Linked DNA regions of Homo sapiens: regions 1 and 2 are each linked to region 3. The links are contacts of gene promoters, found by promoter capture Hi-C in blood cells and fetal thymus (Javierre and others, 2016). All regions are on one chromosome and are shown on one strand. Each heading gives the region's core, a stretch centred on a gene start or on the middle of the fragment in contact. The rest is flanking DNA. Distances are from core to core; before and after follow the strand shown.

What was found. The method cuts DNA at HindIII sites, captures the fragments that hold promoters and counts their contacts. A CHiCAGO score of 5 or more calls a contact.
Region 1: a contact is called between the fragment with the promoter of CYP4F3 here and the fragment with the promoter of CYP4F11 in region 3, in 12 of 17 cell types (naive CD8 T cells, total CD4 T cells, total CD8 T cells and 9 more). The highest score is 10.5, in naive CD8 T cells.
Region 2: a fragment that was not itself captured here is called in contact with the fragment with the promoter of CYP4F11 in region 3 in 1 of 17 cell types (M0 macrophages); the score reaches 5.2 in M0 macrophages.

The regions. Positions count from the first base shown.
Region 1 is chr19:15,639,605-15,642,304 of GRCh38, reverse strand. It overlaps CYP4F3 (cytochrome P450 family 4 subfamily F member 3), which reads right to left and starts at 1,408. Exons shown (of 13, transcript NM_000896.3): 1 at 1,360-1,408; 2 at 692-890. The coding sequence starts at 889. The HindIII fragment of the contact is 7,096 bases long and covers 1-2,700 here.
Region 2 is chr19:15,619,497-15,622,228 of GRCh38, reverse strand. It overlaps CYP4F8 (cytochrome P450 family 4 subfamily F member 8), which reads right to left. Exons shown (of 13, transcript NM_007253.4): 4 at 2,686-2,732; 5 at 2,467-2,594; 6 at 1-10. Among named protein-coding and RNA genes, the nearest start is that of CYP4F8, 5.6 kb to the right of the region's middle. The HindIII fragment of the contact is 5,324 bases long and covers 1-2,732 here.
Region 3 is chr19:15,933,243-15,935,942 of GRCh38, reverse strand. CYP4F11 (cytochrome P450 family 4 subfamily F member 11) reads left to right here and starts at 1,414. Exons shown (of 12, transcript NM_021187.4): 1 at 1,414-1,732. The coding sequence starts at 1,535. The HindIII fragment of the contact is 9,699 bases long and covers 1-2,700 here.

The DNA.
Region 1 (2,700 bases), core at 159-2,658, 290 kb after region 3:
CCTGTGCACCCTCCCACTTCACCTGTGGACACACCCATCAATCCTGCCATTTGCAATGAGCAGATTGAGACCACGTTCCGCAAAGGGGAGAGCAGGTCTAAGTCAGAGGGCAAGGTCTGGGGGAGGAGAAAGGTCAGGGAAGGCTTCTGAAAGGGGAAGTGAGTGGCCAACTTTTATGTGGGTTTGGCAACAGGACCCCATTGGGACATCTTACTGGGGAGGAACAAGATAAGAGGAAGGTGCCTCCGGATGTGGTGGAGGTGAGAGACAGCCCACACCTCTCCTCTGGCCCACCTATACCCTCATAAGAGGAAATAGGCCAGGTAGGGAGAGGACCCTGAACAGTGGGTACAGGAGGCCTCGAGTCCAGCAATGGAGAATGTGGGAACGCCAGGGGTTCACCTTTCTGTGCACCCAACCCCCTGCCCAAGAGCCCCGCAGAGGTGCATTAATGTGGAAAGACAGGCAGGAAAAGGATTCAACACAGGCCAAGAGTGGGAGAACAGGGAGGTGAGAAGGGCTTGGGTTGGCACCTCACAGAAATGAGTAAGCAGAGGAATGAGTAAGACGCCTCCCCTGCTTCTCTGCCACCCCAGACCCCAGCCCACCCCCTCTCACCTGAGCCTCATTCTTACCCCTCAGGAAGTCCATCCACCCTGAGACCCCAGACCCGTCCTGCTGCCACACTCACCAGGCCCAGGTGACCCAAGAACCAATTCCGTTTCGGGGGTTGCGGGAAACACCGGAGGCGGCAGCAGTTGTCATAGAAGGTATAGGTCCAGGCCAGGATGCGGGCCAGGAGCCAGGAGGCCCCAACCAGCAGCAGGAGCAGCCACGGGGATGCTGCCATTGGCCAAAGGCCCAGCGAGGACAGGCTCAGCTGTGGCATCCTGCAGGGCAGATGGGGTGGTGAGTGAGGTCCTGAGGCCCAGGGAAGGGCCCAGGGAGCTCCAGGGACAGTGGAGAGAGGCAGAGACGGGCAGTGCTGGAGATAGAACAGTAAGAGTAAACAGGGATGGATAAACAGGGGCTGAGGGGTAAAGTCCAGAAAGGCCCAGCCAAAACCAGCAACCAAGTGGCCTCCAGTTACCCGGTAAGCACTTAGATTGAGAAAGACAGAGAAACTGATTAAAGTCCAGAAAGGCCCAGCCTGAATCATTAGGACGTTGCCAGGGGCTTGGTTTCAGTTAGAAAACCACTCATCCTCCAAGCCAGCAACCAGGAGCTGCCTGGGCCTTGGGCAGCAATGGAGAATGTGGGAAGGCTGGGGCTCCCCTATGTGTGCGCCCAATCCCTTGCCCAGTGCCCATCTCCATCACAGGCTAGGATGCCCCAGGCCCACCACCCCCACCCTGGCACCTTCTGTCAGGAGCACCTTGTCCCACACAACCTCCTCTCCCCTTCTTCTGGGAGGTTTTTTCCCCTGGCCCCTGATGTAGGGAAGGCTGTGGGAGGCTAGGCTGGGCTGGGCTGGGCCAGCCAATCCCCACAGCCTGGGTGCCGCTCCCATGTCTGGGCAGCTGGCCAAAACCTGGGTGTGGGAGACCAGCTGGATGCAGAGGAACCAGCTCAGGGTGACACAGCACAGGCACTGGATCCTCAGGTCTCAGCACCTCCCACATAAGGTGGAGAGTAAGCCGAGAGGGGTCAGATAGAGTTTCCACTGTGTGACACCTGCTCTTAAAGAGCACCTACTGAGTGTGTGGCAGATAAAAGCATGAACTTGAGAGTTCAGGTGTCAAGCGAGCCAGGCCAGGCCAAGCCTTGTTCCAGATCATCTCCTGTGCTCCTCTCTAACCCTGGGCCGGTAGGACACCGTGTACCACTTCTGGATGCTGAATCAGGCAACCTGGAAGAGACAAGCCTCTATCCCCCTGCTGCTGGATGGAGTTCAAGTCTTGCCTCCAGGCAGTCCAGGGCCCTGTTGGAGACCTGACTGCTAGGAACGGGAACAAAGAATCCAGCCCCACTGAGGATTACCTGGGTCAGATTCTGGAGATTAAGAGCTCAGCTGGAAAAGCAAATCTGGAGGCCGGACTCAGTATAGGAGGACAGAGCGGGGACGTGGAGGGTTAGGATGAGAGGGAACGGATGGGGTCCAGGCAGGGGAAGGGCAGAGCCAGGGAACCATGAATGGAGTCCTCATTCTGCCTCATCCTTGCTCTGACTTTGGTCAGTACTGCCCCTCCTGGGTGCAGTCTTCCCATCTGGGAAATGGGATGTTCGATGAGGGCCTTAGCGGGGGACAATGAGGGCTCCTAAGAGGAGGGAGCCCCAAAAAGGAGTGAAGGGAAAGGGTGGCAACTAGCACTTGAGCTGCTGTGTGCCAGTCTCTACTCTGCACAAAGGCTGCATGGAAAGTACTTCTACTGTGTGCCAATACTCTAAATGAAGGGCAGCTACTGTGTGCCAGGTGCTAAATCCTGTCTACTCTGTGCCAAGTGCTTTCCATAAAGTGTGCCTACTGTGTGCCAGGTGCTCTACATTAACCCTGTATACTCAGTTCCTGATATTCCTCATAGAGTGCCTACTGTGTGCCACCTGCTCTACATAGTGAGTGCCTATTGAGTGCCACCCCCTGTATATGAAGAGTGCCCACTGAGCACCAGTTGCTGTCTACATAACACATGCCTACTGAGTGCCAAGTGCTCTACATAAACAGTGCCTACTGATACCACCTGCTCTATATGGTGACTTCCT
Region 2 (2,732 bases), core at 105-2,604, 310 kb after region 3:
GCCACTTGGCCTGGCCAGAGAAGGGAGCAGGGCTGGGGCCAGGCCTTGGCTCCTCTGAGTCCCCCTGCAACCCCAACCACCAGGATGGACTCCCCCAGAGGCATGCTCCTGGTTTTCTGTCCCAGACCCCCATCCTCAGGGAGGACTACGCTTGGGTGAGAGTGGAAGCTGTTACTATTAGGAGATGAAGATCCCATGGCTGGGTTCAAGCCCCAGCTGTGATTCCTAAGCTGTGTGTACCCTTGGTCAACTCACAGCCCTCCTCTAGGTCTCACCTGTCAAATCCTCAATAGCAATCAAGATGACCTGCTTTGATGCCAGGGAGCCAGGCTAGAACCCCTTTTCCCCCACTCTTAGACTCACTGACAAGCTGGGTGAACTTGGGAAATCTCTCTAACCTCTCTGGCCCTCAGTTTCACCATTTGTCATGGCATGGGGGAGAGGGTGGAAAATATCCTCTACTTCACAAGGCGGTGTAAATTAAATGAGACCACATACACCATGGAATAGGCATATTACATCATTTCTGTCATATGATGAGTTCTCAATAAATATTATCTTGATTCATCTTCATTGTTATAAATTGATTACAAAAAGTCCCTGTGATCCCCCTGAACATTTTTTTCTGAGCATGCCAAGAATGCAAAACTCTGAAGTTTTGTTGTTGTTGTTGTTTGTTTGTTTTGTTTGTTTGCTAGTTTTTGAGATGGAGTCTCGTTCTGTTGCCCAGGCTGGAGTGCAGTGGCACAGTCTTGGCTCACTGCAACCTCTGCCTGCTGGGTTCAAGCAATTCTCCTGTCTCAGCCTCCTGAGTAGCTGGGGTTACAGGCACGCACCACCACGCCCTGCTAATTTTTGTATTTTTAGTAGAGACAGGGTTTTGCCATGTTGGCCAGGCTGGTCTCGAACTCCTGACCTCAAGTGATACCAATGTGCTGGGATTACAAGCATGAGCCACCACACCCGGTCAACCCTGAGGTTCTTAATCTGGGCTATTTCTCAGCATTGTGTTTGCAGAGAACAGCCTTGGGGTATAAGGTAATGGCTCCTCTGGGACACACGTTAGGCTTATTCTGCTTGCTCTAAAAGCTGATTCTCTAAGCCTAATGCTCCTCCCCATCATGCAAATATACTACATGGCAGGCATCTATAGAAGCCCACCTTATCACCCCAGGGAATTTGGGTGGCTTAGAGAAAGGATCCAAACCAACAAGATGCACATGCCACTTGCTGAGACATGAGTAATAAACTTTTGTCTTTGACCCAGAAGTCTCGTGTCTTCTGGCAGAATCCATGCAAAAGTAACAAGCTAATTTATTAGCTCACAGGAGAAAAAAAAATCCTAGTCGTTTCACAAAACGCTTGGCTCCATTTCTTCTCTTCTCCCTGCATCCACATCTTTTGCAATGTGATTTTTTAGCAACTTCCATTAAGAGATGGAGCCTATTTTGCCCCACATTGATTCATGGTGGACGTTTTACTTTTTTTGGCCAATAGAATGTGGTGAAAATGATAAGGCCATAACTAGTGAGAAGTTGACTGGGTGCAGCAGCCCATGCCTGTAATTCCAGCATTTTGTGAGGCCGAGGAGGGCAGATCACTTGACGTCAGGAGTTCAAGACCAGCCTGCCCAACATGGTGAAACCCTGTCTCTACTGAAGATACAAAAAATTAGTTGGGCATGGTGGTGGGCGCCTGTAATTCCATCTACCCACGAGGCTAAGACAGGAGAATTGCTTGAGGCGGGGGTTGCAGAGAGCCAAGATCGCACCACTGCACTCCAGCCTGGGAGACAAAGCGAGACTTCATCTCAAAAATAAAATAAATAATAATAACTAGTGAGAAGCATTGTATCCTCCTCTCACTGCCTTGGAATCCTGTCTCTGCCATGTGAGCAATCCTGGGGTGTCATCTAGAGGCAGAGAATCACATGGAGAAAAGTCCAGGTGTCCCAGCTGAGGCCATCCTAAATCAGCCAGAAGCCAGCAAAGCTCCAAATATGTGAGAGAACTGAGCTGGCACAAGCAAAGCTGCCTACCTGACCCACAGCTGCTCTTATACCATGAGGGATCCTATCCACATGCAGAAGGGCTGGCCAACAGTCCCACAGATTTGTTAGCAAATATAAACCCTTATTGCTCTAAACCAATTAGTTTTGAAGTGATCTGTACTCAGCAATGACTACTATGCACGTGTCATCATTCCTTTCTTGAGTTTACAGGGCTTCTGTGAGAAAAATGTGGAAATTGACTCCTTCTGACCACCTACTAAGTGTCAGAGACATGAGTCCATTACATGCTCCTACCACCTTTTAGTGAGGATTATTAGCCTCATGGGGAAATCAAGGCACAGAGAGGAAGAGCAATGGCCCCAAACCCACCCAGGAGAGCCAACATTCCAGACCCAATTGTATGTGATCCCTCCACCCCAAGGCTGCAGCTGGGATGCTGAGTTCAAGGCACTCACATGCATGATGTTTGCACTCTTGCTGAAAATCTTTATATAGGGCTTCAGGATGTTGAAATGGAAGGCAGGCGTCAGCAAGCGACGGTGGTGTCTCCACTTGTCACCAACACTTAACAAGAGCCCATCCCCTAGTACGGCAGCCAAAGGCTGTGGGCAAGGGCAGAATCTTCCCCTGGCCACAAAAGTTGGTCCCCGTCCCGTCCACCTACAGTTACTTACCCAGCCAGGGCTTCAGGGTCTTGTAGAAGACTATGTCCTTGTCTGTA
Region 3 (2,700 bases), core at 165-2,664:
ACACACTTTTCATAGAGCACTTGGCACACAGTACACAACATGTATACAGAGTACCTGGCACATGGTAGGTGTGCTTTATTTAGAGTCCAGTACACAGTAAAAGAACTTTGCATATTGTCTTTTGCAAAGAGCAGAGACTGACACACAGCAGCTAAAGTGCTAGCTGCCAGCCCCTTCCCTTCACTCCCTCCTCAGAATCTTTCATCTGTCCCCATCTAAGGCCCATTTTCCTGTGATCCCTCCTCTGTCCCCCTCTAAGGCCTTATCTGACATCCCATTTCCCAGATGGGAAGCCTGAGTCCAGGAGGGGCTCACTACCCACAGTTAGGGCAAGGGGAGGGCAGAATAAGGACTCCACTCAGGGTCCCCCATCTCTGCCCTCCTGTCCCTGGCCCCATCCACTCATGGCCCCTCTCAGCCTTACCTCCCATCTCCCCTCTCTGTCCTCCTATGCTGAACCTAGCCTCCAGGTATTCTCCTCCAGCGGGGCTCTTTATCTCTAAAATCTGACCGGGTAATCCCCAGCACAGTTAGATAGTTTGTTCCTACTCCTGTCAGTCATGTCTCGACCCAGGCCCTGGGTTGCCTGGAGGCAGGACTTGAACTCCTGCCAGACTGTGAAGCCAGAGGCCAGGAGCTTCTGTCTCTGAATCTCCTAAGTCTGCACTGAGAAATGGTGCATGATGAACTCCTGGACCACATGTGGAGAGGAGCTCAGAACATGATCTGGCACAATGGTTGGCCTGGCCCCACTCTCTTGCCACCTGAACTCTCAAGTTCATGACTTTATCTGCCACACTCTTGCCTTGGAAGGGCAAGGTGGCTGTAAACTTTGGGGCTCAGAGTCACCTTTGACTCTTCCTCAAGATCCCCTCCCACTCAGGTGTGAGATGTTGAGACCTGCGGATCCTGTGCCCATGCTGTGTCACCCTGAGCTGGCTCCTCTGCACCCAGCTGGCCCTACGCCAGGTTTTGGTTGGTTGCCCAGGCTTGGAAGACACACCCAGTCCATGGGGATTGGCTCGACCAGCCCAGCCCAGCCTCGCCTCCCACAGCCTTCCGGAAATCAGGGGCCAGAGGCAAAGACCTCCTAGCAGAGGGGGAGAGGAGGGTATGTGGGACAAGCTGCTTCTGATAGGAGCCAGGCTGGCAGTGGCAGGGCTGGAGGGTCCTGGCCTGGGATGGGGAGGGGACTGCCCAAGGTTGGGGTGGGTCAAGGCTGCTGGCCTGGGAGACTGGTGATTTCCTGGTAACTGGACCCCTGGCAACCTCCCAGTGATTCAGGCTGGGCCTTTTTGGATTCTAATCAGCCTCTCTCTCTCTTTCCCTTTCTGTGTAACTGGAGGCCACTTGGCTGCTGGTTTTCATTGGGCATTTCTGGACTTTAGATCTCAGCTCTTGTTTACCCATCTCAGAGCCTTCCCTGATCTGCCTCCAGCACTGCCCATCCTTGCCCCTTTCCACTGTCCTTGGAGCTTCCTGGGCCCTTCCCTGGGCCTCAGGATCCCACCCTCCATCCCGTCTGCCCTGCAGGATGCCGCAGCTGAGCCTGTCCTGGCTGGGCCTCGGGCCCGTGGCAGCATCCCCGTGGCTGCTTCTGCTGCTGGTTGGAGGCTCCTGGCTCCTGGCCCGCGTCCTGGCCTGGACCTACACCTTCTATGACAACTGCCGCCGCCTCCAGTGTTTTCCTCAACCCCCGAAACAGAACTGGTTTTGGGGACACCAGGGCCTGGTGAGTTTGTCAGCAGGACGGGTCTGGGGTCTCAGGATGCATGGAGTTCCTGAGGGGCAGGAATGGGGCTCAGGGAGCTGGGTTTTGAGGGTGGCTGGGGTGTGGGAACACAGAGAAGAGAGGGAGGCAGCTCACTCATTCCTCTGCCCACTCACTCATTCCTCTCCCCGCTCACTCATTCCTCTGCCCACTCACTCATTCCTCTGCCCACTCACTCATTCCTCTCCCCGCTCACTCATTCCTCTCCCCGCTCACTCATTCCTCTCCCCGCTCACTCATTCCTCTCCCCGCTCACTCATTCCTCTGCCCACTCACTCATTCCTCTTCTCGCTCACTCATTCCTCTGCTCACTCACTCATTCCTCTCCTCACTCACTCATTCTTCTCCTCACTCACTCATTCTTCTCCTCACTCACTCATTCCTCTGCTCACTCACTCATTCCTCTCCTCACTCACTCATTCTTCTCCTCACTCACTCATTCCTCTCCTCACTCACTCATTCTTCTCCTCACTCACTCATTCTTCTCCTCACTCACTCATTCCTCTCCTCACTCACTCATTCTTCTCCTCACTCACTCATTCCTCTCCTCACTCACTCATTCTTCTCCTCACTCACTCATTCTTCTCCTCACTCACTCATTCCTCTCCTCACTCACTCATTCTTCTCCTCACTCACTCATTCCTCTCCTCACTCACTCATTCTTCTCCTCACTCACTCATTCCTCTCCTCACTCACTCATTCTTCTCCTCACTCACTCATTCCTCTCCTCACTCACTCATTCTTCTCCTCACTCACTCATTCCTCTCCTCACTCACTCATTCCTCTCCTCACTCACTCATTCCTCTCCTCACTCACTCATTCTTCTCCTCACTCACTCATTCTTCTCCTCACTCACTCATTCCTCTCCTCACTCACTCATTCCTCTCCTCACTCACTCATTCCTCTCCTCGCTCACTCATTCCTCTCCC